3 separate regions of the Homo sapiens genome follow, and all the other regions are linked to region 2. Evidence: promoter capture Hi-C in 16 types of primary human blood cells and fetal thymus (Javierre and others, 2016). All regions are on one chromosome and are shown on one strand. The core of a region is centred on a gene start or on the middle of the fragment in contact, and the rest is flanking DNA. Distances in the headings are between cores, read along the strand shown.

Region 1 (3,964 bases), core at 637-3,136, 170 kb before region 2:
GCTCCCATTCTGAGCAGGTCACCAGGTTTCAAAACTCTAAACTTCGGGGACATTGGACAGAATAGGAAGCAGAATGGGGCAGCATGTTTGGTGAAAGCTTCAGGCTATTAGGAAGGTGAGTTTGGCCGGGTATGGTGGGTCACGCCTGTAATCTCAGCACTTTGGGAAGCCGAGGTGGGCAAACTGCTTGAGCTCAGAAGTTTGAGACCAGCCTGGGTGACATGGTGAAACCCCATCTCTACCAAAAAATAAAAAAAATTAGCCAGGCGTGGCGGCGCATGCCTATGTTCCTAGCTACTCACGAAGCTGAGGTGGGAGTGTCGCCCATGCCTGGGAGGCGAAGGTTGCAGTGAGCGGAGATCATGCCACTGCACTTCAGCCTGGGCTGGAGACCCCATCTCAGAAATGAAACAAACAAACAAACAAAAAAGATGGTGAGTTTAGGGGAAGGGAAGAGACCACTTTTGAGAAGCAGAGAGTGGGCAAGGCTCTCCTGAACTAGAAATGAAAAAAGCACCGTGAGTCCCAGGAGCAAGCAGTCAGATGCATTCCCACACCCTGAGGGGGACGGGGTGGGGTAAACAGGAGGAAGGGACATTGGGCAGAGGCTGCTGGCCTTGGCAAAGAAGTCCATGTCCCATGGCACAGAACTGGAGAGGCACTGAGGAAACTTGCAGGGATCACAACATAGTGGTCCTTTCCTGTTTTCCAAGCTTTGCTCAGACCTTCTGGACCTGGGGTGAGCCTGGGGTTGGGGGAAAGGATGCCAGCCGCCAGCAATTCTTTTTTTTTTTTTTTTTTTGAGATGGAGTCTCAATCTGTCGCCCAGGCTGGAGTGCAGTGGCACAGTCTTGGCTCCTGCAACCTCCACCCACCAAGTTCAAGCGATTCTTCTGCCTCAGCCTCCTGGGTAGCTGGGATTACAGGCACGCACCACCATAACCAGATAATGTTTGTATTTTTAATAGAGACAGGGTTTCACCATGTTGGCCAGGCTGGTCTCAAACTCCTGGCCTCAAGTGATCCACCCATCTCAGCCGCCTAAAGTGCTGGGATTACAGGCATGAGCCACCGCGCCCAACCAGACCCCAGTAATTCTGACTTGAAATGTCTTGCCACTCAGGAGGGTAGGGGCTCAGAAGTAGAATTACATTGGTTTAAAGACAATCAAGAATGGGATGTTTGTTGCCTGGCCAAGTTTGTGGGCTGCTATTTAGATCTATTACACACAGATTCCAAAGCTTAAAAAGTATGGAGTGCCAGAAACACAGTATTTGACATGATTATTAATTATCTAATTATTTTGGTATAAAAATGTTTGGCAAGAGGGGAATGGGGAAGGTTCGCCAGGGCCAGAAAGGGCTTGGGCTGCAGCTTCTGAAAGATTGTGTTCACCTTTTAAAAGCAGAGCTGGTTGGGTGTTGCGGGGAGAATGGTGGAGGAGCTACCGGGAACCCCAGCCTGGACCACTGGGGTGAAACTATTTCCTGCGAGTCAGCTCTCCCCAGCCGCTTCCCTCGCTGTGTGGCCTGCTTTGCCTCCCTGAGGCTCCCTGACTCCTCCCCTCCACTGAAGGTCCCAGCACAAGGAAAGGGGACAGAGCTGGGCCTGTGCCTAGGAAGCCGACTCTGTGTCCTCCTCAGCACTTCTGGGCAGCTGCATTTCAGTCTTGGGAAGGAGAAAGGGAGAGAAAGAGTCCCTGAGCCCTGAAACCTGAGCCCAGCCTGGCTGAAATAAGTGCAGCTTTCAGGAAGGAGTCAAACTTTCTCAGGCTAAAGCTTCCTCTTAAAAGCAGAGGGAGTGGCTGCTGGGAGGCCAGGTCTCCAGAGTCCCCAGGGCACTTCCAGGAGGACCTCTCTGCAGGAGGCCAGAGGTCTGTGCCTCAGTAAGGATTCATTAACACCCTATCTCAGAAAGAGGGGCTGGAATTATCTCCTTTTGGTAGGCAATAGGGTAGGAAGCAGAACCGGCCAGCATACTTGGTGAAAGCTTCAGGTGAGTTTAGAGGAAGAGAAGAGATCACTTTTGAGACGCAGAGAGGGGGCAAGACTCTCTTGAACTAGAAGTGAAAAGAGCTTTAGGTACAGGGGAAACTGGGGCTTGGGATGGTGATTTGGGAATAAATAATTCTAATTATGAATGATGATTTATGAGGCCGGCCACTGGGCCAATGAAAAGTTTGCCATTCTTTTCTTCCCTCTTGAGGCTCCCCGTCTGCCATCCAGCTTCAGAAAATGGTTCCAGATAGGCAAACTTCGTTGCCTCAGGAGGCCAGGGTTTAGGGTGGAGTGGAGGGAGAACATGAGTTTAGAGAAGTGAATTTGGACAGAACTGTAGGGGTTGTACCCCTCAAATTCCATCGCTTTGTTTTAAACATCATCCCACTTTCAGGAAAGGTAACTTGGGGAAGAAGATGGAGGGAAAGAGACGATATTTAAATGTGCAAATTCCTCTGGGATGAGTAAAATACAAACACCTTACCAAGTGCCTGGTTCATTTTTTGTTGTAAGTTAATGGTAAGTAATAGTAGTGTTTATGGAGCAGTTCCTTTGAGCAGGCTAAGTGCACTGTCTAAAAGCAGGGACTTTTATCTCTCTACCATGGTGAAGAGGAAGCTGAGGTTACACGAGGCTGGCCAGCCCTGGCCTTGTGACAAGAAGTGCCCGGTCAGAAAGGAGACGATAAGCATGGAGGATCCCGGGGCAGGGATCTCAGGAGCAGGGGACAGGCAGCAGTAGGACATTAACTTTGTGGCTTTTATGGTTTTGTCAAGGAGCAGATTTGGCACTGAAAGATACTGTCAAGCATTCACCAAGGAAATGGAGGACATGTTGGTGTGACATGGTGGTGGACAGATTGGTACCTGGTGTAGTCTGGAGGCCGTTCCCTCTAAATCTCATGTGGAAAGGTCATCCCCAGGTCAGAGGTGGGGCCTGATGGGAAGTGCTTGGGTCATGGGAGTGGATCCCTCATGGCTTGGTGCCATCCTTGCCATAGTGAGTTCTTTTTTTTTTTTTTTTTGAGACAGAGTCTCACTCTGTTGCCCAGGCAGTGACGCGATCTCCGCTCACTGCACCCTCAACCTCCCAGGTTCGGGCAATTCTCCTGCCTCAGTCTCCAGAGTAGGTGGGATTACAGGTGCGCGCCACCACACCCAGCTATGTGTGTGTGTATTTTTAGTAGAGATTGGGTTTCACCATGTTGGCCAGGCTGGTCTCAAACTCCTGGCCTCAAGTGATCTGCCCACCTCGGCCTCCCAGAGTGCTGAGATTACAGGTGTGAGCCACCGTGCCCAGCCAGTTTTCGTGAGATCTGGTTATTTAAAATTGTGTGGCACTTACCCCCACAACTCTCTCTTTTGCTCCCTCTGTCACCATGTGACAAGCCTGCTCCCACTTCACCTTCTGCCATAAGTAAATGCTCCCTGAGGCTCCTTTGAAGGCTGAGCAGATGCCTGCACCATGCTTCCTATACAGCCAGTAGAAACATGAGCCAATTAAACCTCTTTTTTAAATAAATTATCCAGCCTCTGGTATTTCTTTACAGCAACGCAAGAATGGCCTAACATACATGTTTTGCTGGAGGGCCTCCAGGAGGGCTCCTGGTACCAGCAATGACTATTTCTTAGAAGCCCTGGGCTGGGCCCTGGACAACCCCCCCCAACACACACTCATTCCAGGAGGAACCCAAGAAGGGCACAGAACAGAATCATGGGTAGTGCGGCACTGCGGCAGACATCCCCCACCACCCTTCCTCTCTGCTGCAACCCCTCTTCCAAAATACTTTTTGATTTTAGACAAGTTTCCATGGCAACCCAAGTCCCCATCAGCCAGAGGGTTACCATGGCGACTTAACTTGGCTCTGCGTCCACAGCTAAGGAGGGCCCTACACCTTAGCTGGCAAGCAAGGCTCACAGAAAATCAAGTGAAGGGAGGATTGAGGCCTTGGCTTGCTGTGGGGCATC
Region 2 (3,954 bases), core at 555-3,054:
AGTCCCATGACTCCAGAGAGGACAAACCCAGACCAAAGAAGGTAATGTAGGAGTTTGCCCTTTTGTAAAATCCTGGGCAAAACTCCGAGGCTCATCTCTCCAAGATACTGAGAATTGAAAGGAGAGGGGGAAATCCCATGGGATCGCCATCTTTGGGCGGAAGCCCTTGGTCTCTGACACTGATGGTGGTTCTGCAGTTTAATGGACCTGTTTAACTATTGCTTAGTCAGTGCAGCCGTGACCAGAAATTCTTCTGGTTTCTCCTCCTTCATCTTGGTTGGGTCAGATGAAGATGGCCCAATCTGCAAGAAACACTGGTTGTGTGCTTCTAGACATTTTAATCTTGGAGGGCCTTGTTTATAGGATGGACCTGGCCAAAGGAAAGATGTTACTTATGGTAGAAAGCAAGAAAAACCTAGATAAACACTTTTTTTTTTGAGAAACACTCTTGCTCTGTCGCCCAGGCTGGAGTGCAGTGGTGCAATCTTGGCTCACTGCAACCTCTGCCTCCTGAGTTCAAGTGATCCTTCCACCTCAGCCTCTCGAGTAGCTTGGATTACAGGCACACACCACCACGCCTGGCTAATTTTTTTAATTTTTTTGTAGAAACAGGGTTTCACCAGGTCTCGAACTCCTGGGTTTAAGCAATCTGCCTGCCTCGGCCTCCCAAAGTGTTGGGATTACAGGCGTGAGCCACAGTGCCTGGCCAAATACTTCATTTTCTAGATCATAAGATGCTTAACTTTATTCCTGGCAAAAAGTTGATTCAGCAAACCAGGGCTTTAAGTGAAGCCGGTTGGGGCCTGAACCCTTGACACCTGCCCAGGGTGGAAGACATAGCAGCTGCATCTATGGGCCACCTGGGGTGTAGGGTGACCAGCTGGAGGCTGTGAGCTTCTCTGCTCCCTGAAATGCCTGCACGGGGCACTCAGGAAGGGCTGGGGACTGGGTGAGGAGGTGTGGACAGAATGTCCCCTGGAAACTGCCCCAGGGGCAGCTTGAGTGGCCTGAGCCTGTGTCTGTCCTACTGAAGGTTGGAGCCCCAGAGAAAAGCCTCTATGGAGGCACCCACTTTTCAGAACTGCTGCTTTTGCGGGAGAACACCTTTTTCCAGGTGTTGTCCTTAGGGTAGCAGGGAAGACTGGGAAAAACTGAGGGGCAAGAGCTGTTGGAGGGGGGAGTTACATTTATTGAGTGTCTATTACATGCCGGGTGCTGCTGAAGGTCTGCGGGTCCTACCGGATCTCCTTTTAGCCCCTCACATCCCTGTAGATTACACGCCGTTCACAGATGACCCTGAACCCAGAAGGGCTGTCTAGGCCCAGGGCCCAGCTAGTGAGTGGATGGGCAGAATCAGACCTGCCCTGGAAGGGTCTGTCTTACCCTGGCGCCCAAAATGTGTCCCTCACCCTCTGCCACCAGGACAAGTAAATTCGAGACACCCTTTCGTTAGGGGCTCAAGTTTATCATGGGTCTGACCTCTAAGGTCATATCTCCGCCTTCTCACCTGACAGACAGGAAACTCCTGAAATGCCCCTCGCACGTGCAAGACGTTTTCCGCGGTGGCGGCGACAGGGCGCACAGTGGGACCGCAGCACGAGCTCGGAGCACCCCCAGAGTCGGCGACTCCTGCCCCCGCCCCTGCCGGCCGGCCTTCCCGGGGCCTAGGAGGGCAGCACCGCCGGGCTTCGCGCCATGACATCAGCCCTGGAGTGGTGCAGTGTGCAAAGCCCACTGGTTGGCGTGGCCCGGGACACGCCTTCCGCGGAGCGGAACAAAACGGCGCGCAGGCCGGGCGCACCCAGCCGCCACTTCCGAGAGCGCCTGCCGCCCCTGCGCCGCCGAGCCAGCTGCCAGGTGAGTGCGCCCTGAGTCGCGCGGCTCTGCCCGCCGCGGAGGGGCGCCTGGGCACGCACTCAGCGCCTCCCGGTCTTGCCAGCCCCGCCGCAGCCCCGGGGCTGTCGCAGGCGGGGAACTGTGAGAAGTGACCGCAGTTAGCCCGGGCAGTGCTGCTCTTTTCTGGAGGCACTAGGTCCGTCCCCATCCCGGGCCTTCCTGGGCTTCCTGGACACAGTTGACTTCCGCGTGTGCGTGACCCAGGGCGACCCGGCTCCCCGCAACCGCCTGCAAGTCGGGCAGAACAATCGGCGATTCTGCGCGCCACTGACGCTCATTGTATGGCAGAGAGATGAGGGCATCCGTGCCACCCCCTCCCTCACCCTCCTGCTGGGGAGAAAATGCCCGCGGGCGGGGTGGGGCAAACATCTGGGCCTGACCTTGGACATCTGTGTCCCTGAGCGCAGGTGTGAGTTTTCCCTCTTGTGAAATAACTGCATGGAAACCTCTCCACTCCAAATCTTGGTGCTAGGTGGTGATGGTTACTGAAACCTGAAAGAGCCTGCAGTCAGTGTTTTGTGGCCTCAGTCCTTGAAAGCTGGGAAGTGATAAAGGGGCTGGTATTGAGCACATTTAAAGCAAATCACAATGTGTTAGCTAACAATCAGCCCTCTGAGGCAGGTATTGTATCTACTGGTACAGACTAGAGAATATTTTGCATGCTTCTGGTTCTGGTGCTGTTGTGAACTAACCAGGACCCAGGAATCGGCTGGAGCAATAGTGGGCTCAGGCTCTGCCTAGAGCCCTGGGCTCCAGCCACCCACCAGCTGCTCCCTGAGAGTGAATGAATGGGCAGGCTCTCCCCACGCTGGGATACTATCACAGTGGCACCGAGGAAATCCACTGGGCCCTGGTAGAAAGTATATCAGTATATCATGAAGAGGTGGCTTGGAGTCTTGGTGGGATTGTTTGGAAGGCAGAGTTTTGACTCTTGGATTTGCCACTTAACGCGCAGGTTTCCTTGGACAAACTATTTAACTTCTCAATGTCTCAGTTTCTTTCAGGGATGCTACTTGGGGAGCATATTACACAGAACCTCCAACACAGGAGTGATCTCTCAGTTACTGTCTTTCTTGTCCTCCCCTCATCCCTTGCCTTCCTCCCAGAAGCTAAGGAGGCTGGAGGTGCTGGTTGTCTCCCTCTGTCCTCTCAGACTGCATGTTGGGGATTTTCCCCAGGTGGGATTTGGGGATGGGTACTGAGCCTCCCCTCAACTGCTCTCACTCAACTGCTGCCTCCTGACTCTCCAGCTGGTTTCTGGCTACCTCTTTTGAGAGAGACTGTCCTCAGCCCTCAGCTGCTGGAGGGCAGCTTTTACCCATTGTTTCCTAAATCCAGCCTCCTCCTGCTCACGGTCTTCCAGTGAATGACTCTTTGCCTTGGAGAGGATATCCGGGGCGGAGGCAGTCAGACGAGGAAGGAAGTTTATCCTGCAGAGGGTGTAGTGTGGGTTAGAGGAGAGGGAGGAGAGAACTGTCTGCAAGGCCTGAGATGCCCAGGATGGAGGGTATGGGGAAGAAGAAGCAGGAGAGAAACTAAAGAGAAGGCCCATCAACTCTGCAATTGGCCTGCTAATAAAATGGGAAAAACAGGGGTGCTGTGGCCTATTTGCCTGTGGTCTGTCTTAGCACCTGCCTTCCTGGCCCAGGTGTTTGCTCTTTTAATTGCACACATGTGCATCTGCCTCTGGAGCTAGTGAGTCCTGACTGGGCCAGAGTTGCAGCCTGGGAGTGTAGTGACACTTGACTGAGTGATCAGCAAACATTTGATGAATGAGTGGGGTAGCAATGGTCTTTCAGCTGAGTTGGCCTACGGGATACTCATAAACCTTGCAAATAGTTACTAGCCAGTTTTTCCACTTGGGTAGATTGACAAGCAGGTGAGAGAAAAAAGGCGTAGGTTTTTTTTGGGCTTTTTTGTGTGTTTTTGTTTTGAGGCAGTCTTGCTCTGTCACCCAGGCTGGAGTGCAATGGCGTGACATTGGCTCACTGCAACCTCTGCCTCCTGGGTTCAAGCGATTCTCCTGCCTCAGCCTTCCAAGTAGCTGGGATTACAGGT
Region 3 (3,922 bases), core at 229-2,728, 210 kb before region 2:
GGATTAGGAAGTTGCATGATTGGTAGAAGGTTTGCACAGGAAGAAACCCAAGGAGCAGACACTGAGGACCACAGGGGTCGGATAGGGAACTGAGGGGTTACGAACCCCTGGCAAAGGAAGTGGAGCTACTGCTGCTACTCACTGTTTGACTAGCGATTTCACCCACAAGCTCTCATTTTCTCTTCTTAGGTAGACAGATACGATGTTAATAACCTTTTTGGTTTTTTTTTTTTTTGCAAATGGGAAAGCAGATTTAGTTGTCCAGGGTCTACACAGAGTTCGCATAAGAGCTGGGAATAAAATGCTTTTCCAAGGCTCTTTGAGCCAGTTTATTGAGGGCAAAGAGCCAGGGAGGAGGGTGACAGAATGACAGCCACAGAGACCAATGAGAGGGAGGCGCCTTCATTGACCAATCAGCTCCTTGGATGTAGGCCCTGCCTACACCACACCCAAGTCTAGAATAAACCACATCGAATTTCAGAGGCAATCACAAAGTGTACACAGCACACTTTTGTGTACTTTCATAGCAGCACAGCAAACCAAAACCCGTTTTGGGTTCCACTCCACTTTTAAGGCGTCGCATCCCAGTGGTCTTTCCACCATCCTCCCCCGCCATCCAAGAAGCCCCTGCGCTTACCCGGTAGTGATGTCATCATCCTCCGTCATGGTCTTGCCCATGAGGTCACTGTCGCTCATGTAGCCGGACTTGAGGTCCACCTCATCCGAGTCCAGGGATTCGACCAGCTCCAGGCGGGAGATATGGCTGAGCTTGCTGGGGCTGCGCATGGGCATGGTGTGGGAGTAGTGGGCCCGTTCGCCGTGCATGTACCAGGCGGGCGTCCCCTCCGAGCGGCAGCTCCCACCCACAGAGGGCGCGTCACCAGCCTGCAGCCGCGGACTGGACTGGCCATAGCGCCATGACAGAGGGGACGAGCGGTTGGAGAGGCTGGACACGCTGCGTGGGTTGGCATCATCGCTGTCGTAGCAGGTCATCTCCAGGGAGCTGGGTGGAGAGCAGAAGGCACTACTTAGTCCTTGGCACAGCCGCCGTGTGCCCTGTCCCCTCACATGCACCCCAGCAATGCCTCCCCTCCACCCACAGGCCCTGTCACCTCCTCCCCACCTGCCCAAGCTCCACCTCCTCCATGAGGCCTCTGGTTGTGTGTTACCTTTGTGATACGTTATCTGTTTGACAAAGGAAATGATCTTAATTAAGTGGCTAGGGAAGAAATCCTGTATACTGTTAAGACCCTAGATTGTGTAATATGACCTAGGTTTGAATTCTTTTTTGGTATTGGTTAGTAAAGGAGCCCAAGGAAAGTAAATAACTAAAGCTTCAGTTTCCCCATCTGTACAATGGGGATAATGGCATAACATCTACCTTATAGAGTTGTAAGGATCACATATGTACAGACAGAACACAGTGCCTGGTATATGGAAGGGGTCAACAGACCTGGAGGCAAGTGGGAGAGACTGGTCACTTGAGCTTAGAAGGCCTTGGTCATTTTGTTAATGGTGTGTCCATCACCTCTCTTCTAGTAATTAGCTGAGGGCTAGCTGATTCCCAAACATCATATATAGGAAAGCTGAAGTAGAGTGCAGAGAGTATAGGAAAAGCTTTGGGAATCTGGGATGTATGGCAGGTCCCCAGTAAGACTGGTCCAAGCCACAGGCCTAGGGCAGCAGGGGAAATAAGCCTCCCCAGAGAATAGAAGCAGCCTTAACTGGACAAAGGAGAGGACACAGGGAACCAGACATGGGGGTGAAGCCAAATGTCCAGAGTCTCAAGCCTCAGGCCCTGCTAGACCAGGCCAAGGGAGCAATGCCCAGGTGAGTGCTGGATGGCCTGAGACTAGGGGAACCTGGGGGACTAGGGAAGGAGATAGGGCCAGGCGGGCTGCAGAGAGGAAATACAACTGGAATCTGGTTGAAGGGGTGGCTTGGACTTGGGTTCAGGCTGAGACCCATAATTCCATCTAGCCTAGCAGTGGGGCCAGCCCAAATCAGCCTCAGGCAGGGTCTCCATAACTTATCCTAATTAAGCCAGACAGGACTAAGTAAGCGAAACGGGGTTTGGTGGCCAAGAAAGCTGGGGCAACTGAGGCAATCTGTGGCTGGACATGAGTTACATGAGCCCAAGCAATCACTGCTCTGTGAACACATCCATTGCTTAGCCACTTTGGGGGCTGGAATGGGAGTGGGACATTGATTTTTCCATTCTGGTTTCTATCAAGTTCCTTGAAAAGAAGAAAAATTTCCAAAGTTGTCTCTATTGGACCTGAGAAAATACGGTCTTATTTTCTAACCAGCAGAACTTGAGGGATCCAAACGCTCTTGAAACTGAGTGTGCTGGGGTCCTGGCAGTAGTCCTGTGGGCAAGATGGGGGAGGCCCTGGCCAGTCAGGGCAATCAGTGGCAGCTGCTTCTGGCCCTCTGGAGGGCTTCCTGACCGTGTCCATGCCCAGCGGCTCCCCTCCTGGCCCTGCCAACTCTTTTTACTTATTTACTTATTTTTGAGACAGGGTCTCACTCTGTTGCCTAGGCTGGAGTGTAGTGGTGCAAACACGGCTCACTGCAGCCTTGACCTCCCGAGCTCAAGTGACCCTCCTGCCTCAGCCCCAAAGTAGCAGGGACGACAGGCACACATGAGCACATCTGGCTAATTTTTGTATTTTTTATAGAGATGGGGTTTTGCCATGTTGTCCAGGCTGGTCTTGAACTCCTGAACTCAAGCAATCCTCCCACCTCGGCCTCCCACAGTGCTGGGGTTACTGGCGTGAGCCACTGCACCCTGCTTCTGGCAGCCCTTTAGGAACCCCTTTGTGTTCTGCAGCTCTGCCTCATACAGTGTCTTGTTTCGGCTTCTAATTACTGTGGACCTAGACATCACATCTCCTTGGACAGAAACCGATGTGCCCCGAAGCCAGAGACTGTAGTGATGGTGCGACTTTGTCTGCCTTGCTCACTCACCACGGTATTTCAGCACTTTGCATGGCACCTGGCCTAGAGCTGGTGCTCTAGAATGAATCAAAGAGGAGCAAACCCACGATGGATGTGTGAGTAAAAAGCAAGGAAGTTCTCATCAGAAAACTCAGTCCAGCGCCCTGTGCAGTAAGTGCTTGATAAAAGCAAGCTGACCTTGACCATGGGATGAGACAGGGGAGGAAGAGGATGATGCTAACCATACTAAGAGGGTGGCGGGGATCTCCAGGGAAGCTGGTTTGGGTAGTTAGCCTACACCATGGTTATATACTAGTGTGGGAGTGAGGGCTGCACTCAGCATCTGGGTTCCTCAATTCTATTCCTGGCCTGCCCCTGTTTAGTTATTTGTACTAAAATTGCCTCTTCCCCTATTCCACAGCTCTCTCTTTTTTTTTCAGTTCCCCCAAACACATCTCTAGACATCTCTAGACTTAAGCTTGGTGAGGGGGATTCTAGCTCAGATCCTCAGTTCTTGAATTCCAGCCCTGCACCCACCCTTCAGGCTTGCCTTTCTCTGGGGAGGACACAGTTTCATTTCCTCTCCAGCCACAGTCTGACCCAGACTCTCCTCGCTGGGGGAAATGAACCAGTAGAAATTGAGGAAGCAGCACAGGAGTAAAGGCTTCTGAAAAGGAATGGAATCCAGTTATCCTGGGAGTTCCTGGGTGAAAACAGCCTTGCAGGAAGCACACACTGGACCATAAGCTCCGAGGATGAAGCTTGTGTGTGTTCTGGGGAGCCAGTGCCCAGCGCTGTGCCTGGCACACAGCTGGCATGGGTTCTGAGCATGCAGAGTACAGAACCTACCCTCATCAGCCAGCGTGACTCTGGCAGGTGCCTCCCTGCCCCCAGCCTCATTCTCTAACCCAGGGAGTATGTATATATCCTGTCTACTTCCAGGGCTAAGGGAAGGGCTCATTGATAGAAAGCCCTTTAAAAA

What was found. The method cuts DNA at HindIII sites, captures the fragments that hold promoters and counts their contacts. A CHiCAGO score of 5 or more calls a contact.
Region 1: a fragment that was not itself captured here is called in contact with the fragment with the promoter of CSRP1 in region 2 in 1 of 17 cell types (megakaryocytes); the score reaches 5.2 in megakaryocytes.
Region 3: a fragment that was not itself captured here is called in contact with the fragment with the promoter of CSRP1 in region 2 in 2 of 17 cell types (monocytes and megakaryocytes); the score reaches 7.7 in monocytes.

Annotation. Positions count from the first base shown.
Region 1 is chr1:201,674,089-201,678,052 of GRCh38, reverse strand. All of the region lies in intron 5 of NAV1 (neuron navigator 1), which reads right to left. Among named protein-coding and RNA genes, the nearest start is that of MIR5191, 43 kb to the left of the region's middle. The HindIII fragment of the contact is 211 bases long and covers 1,781-1,991 here.
Region 2 is chr1:201,504,973-201,508,926 of GRCh38, reverse strand. CSRP1 (cysteine and glycine rich protein 1) reads left to right here and starts at 1,804. Exons shown (of 6, transcript NM_004078.3): 1 at 1,804-1,857. CSRP1-AS1 (CSRP1 antisense RNA 1) reads right to left here and starts at 1,714. Exons shown (of 2, transcript NR_160747.1): 1 at 1,508-1,714. RefSeq lists a silencer at 1,473-2,102. The HindIII fragment of the contact is 16,293 bases long and covers 1-3,954 here.
Region 3 is chr1:201,715,471-201,719,392 of GRCh38, reverse strand. It overlaps NAV1 (neuron navigator 1), which reads right to left. Exons shown (of 34, transcript NM_001389617.1): 7 at 638-1,003. All of the region lies in intron 2 of IPO9-AS1 (IPO9 antisense RNA 1), which reads left to right. Among named protein-coding and RNA genes, the nearest start is that of MIR5191, 2.1 kb to the left of the region's middle. The HindIII fragment of the contact is 283 bases long and covers 1,337-1,619 here.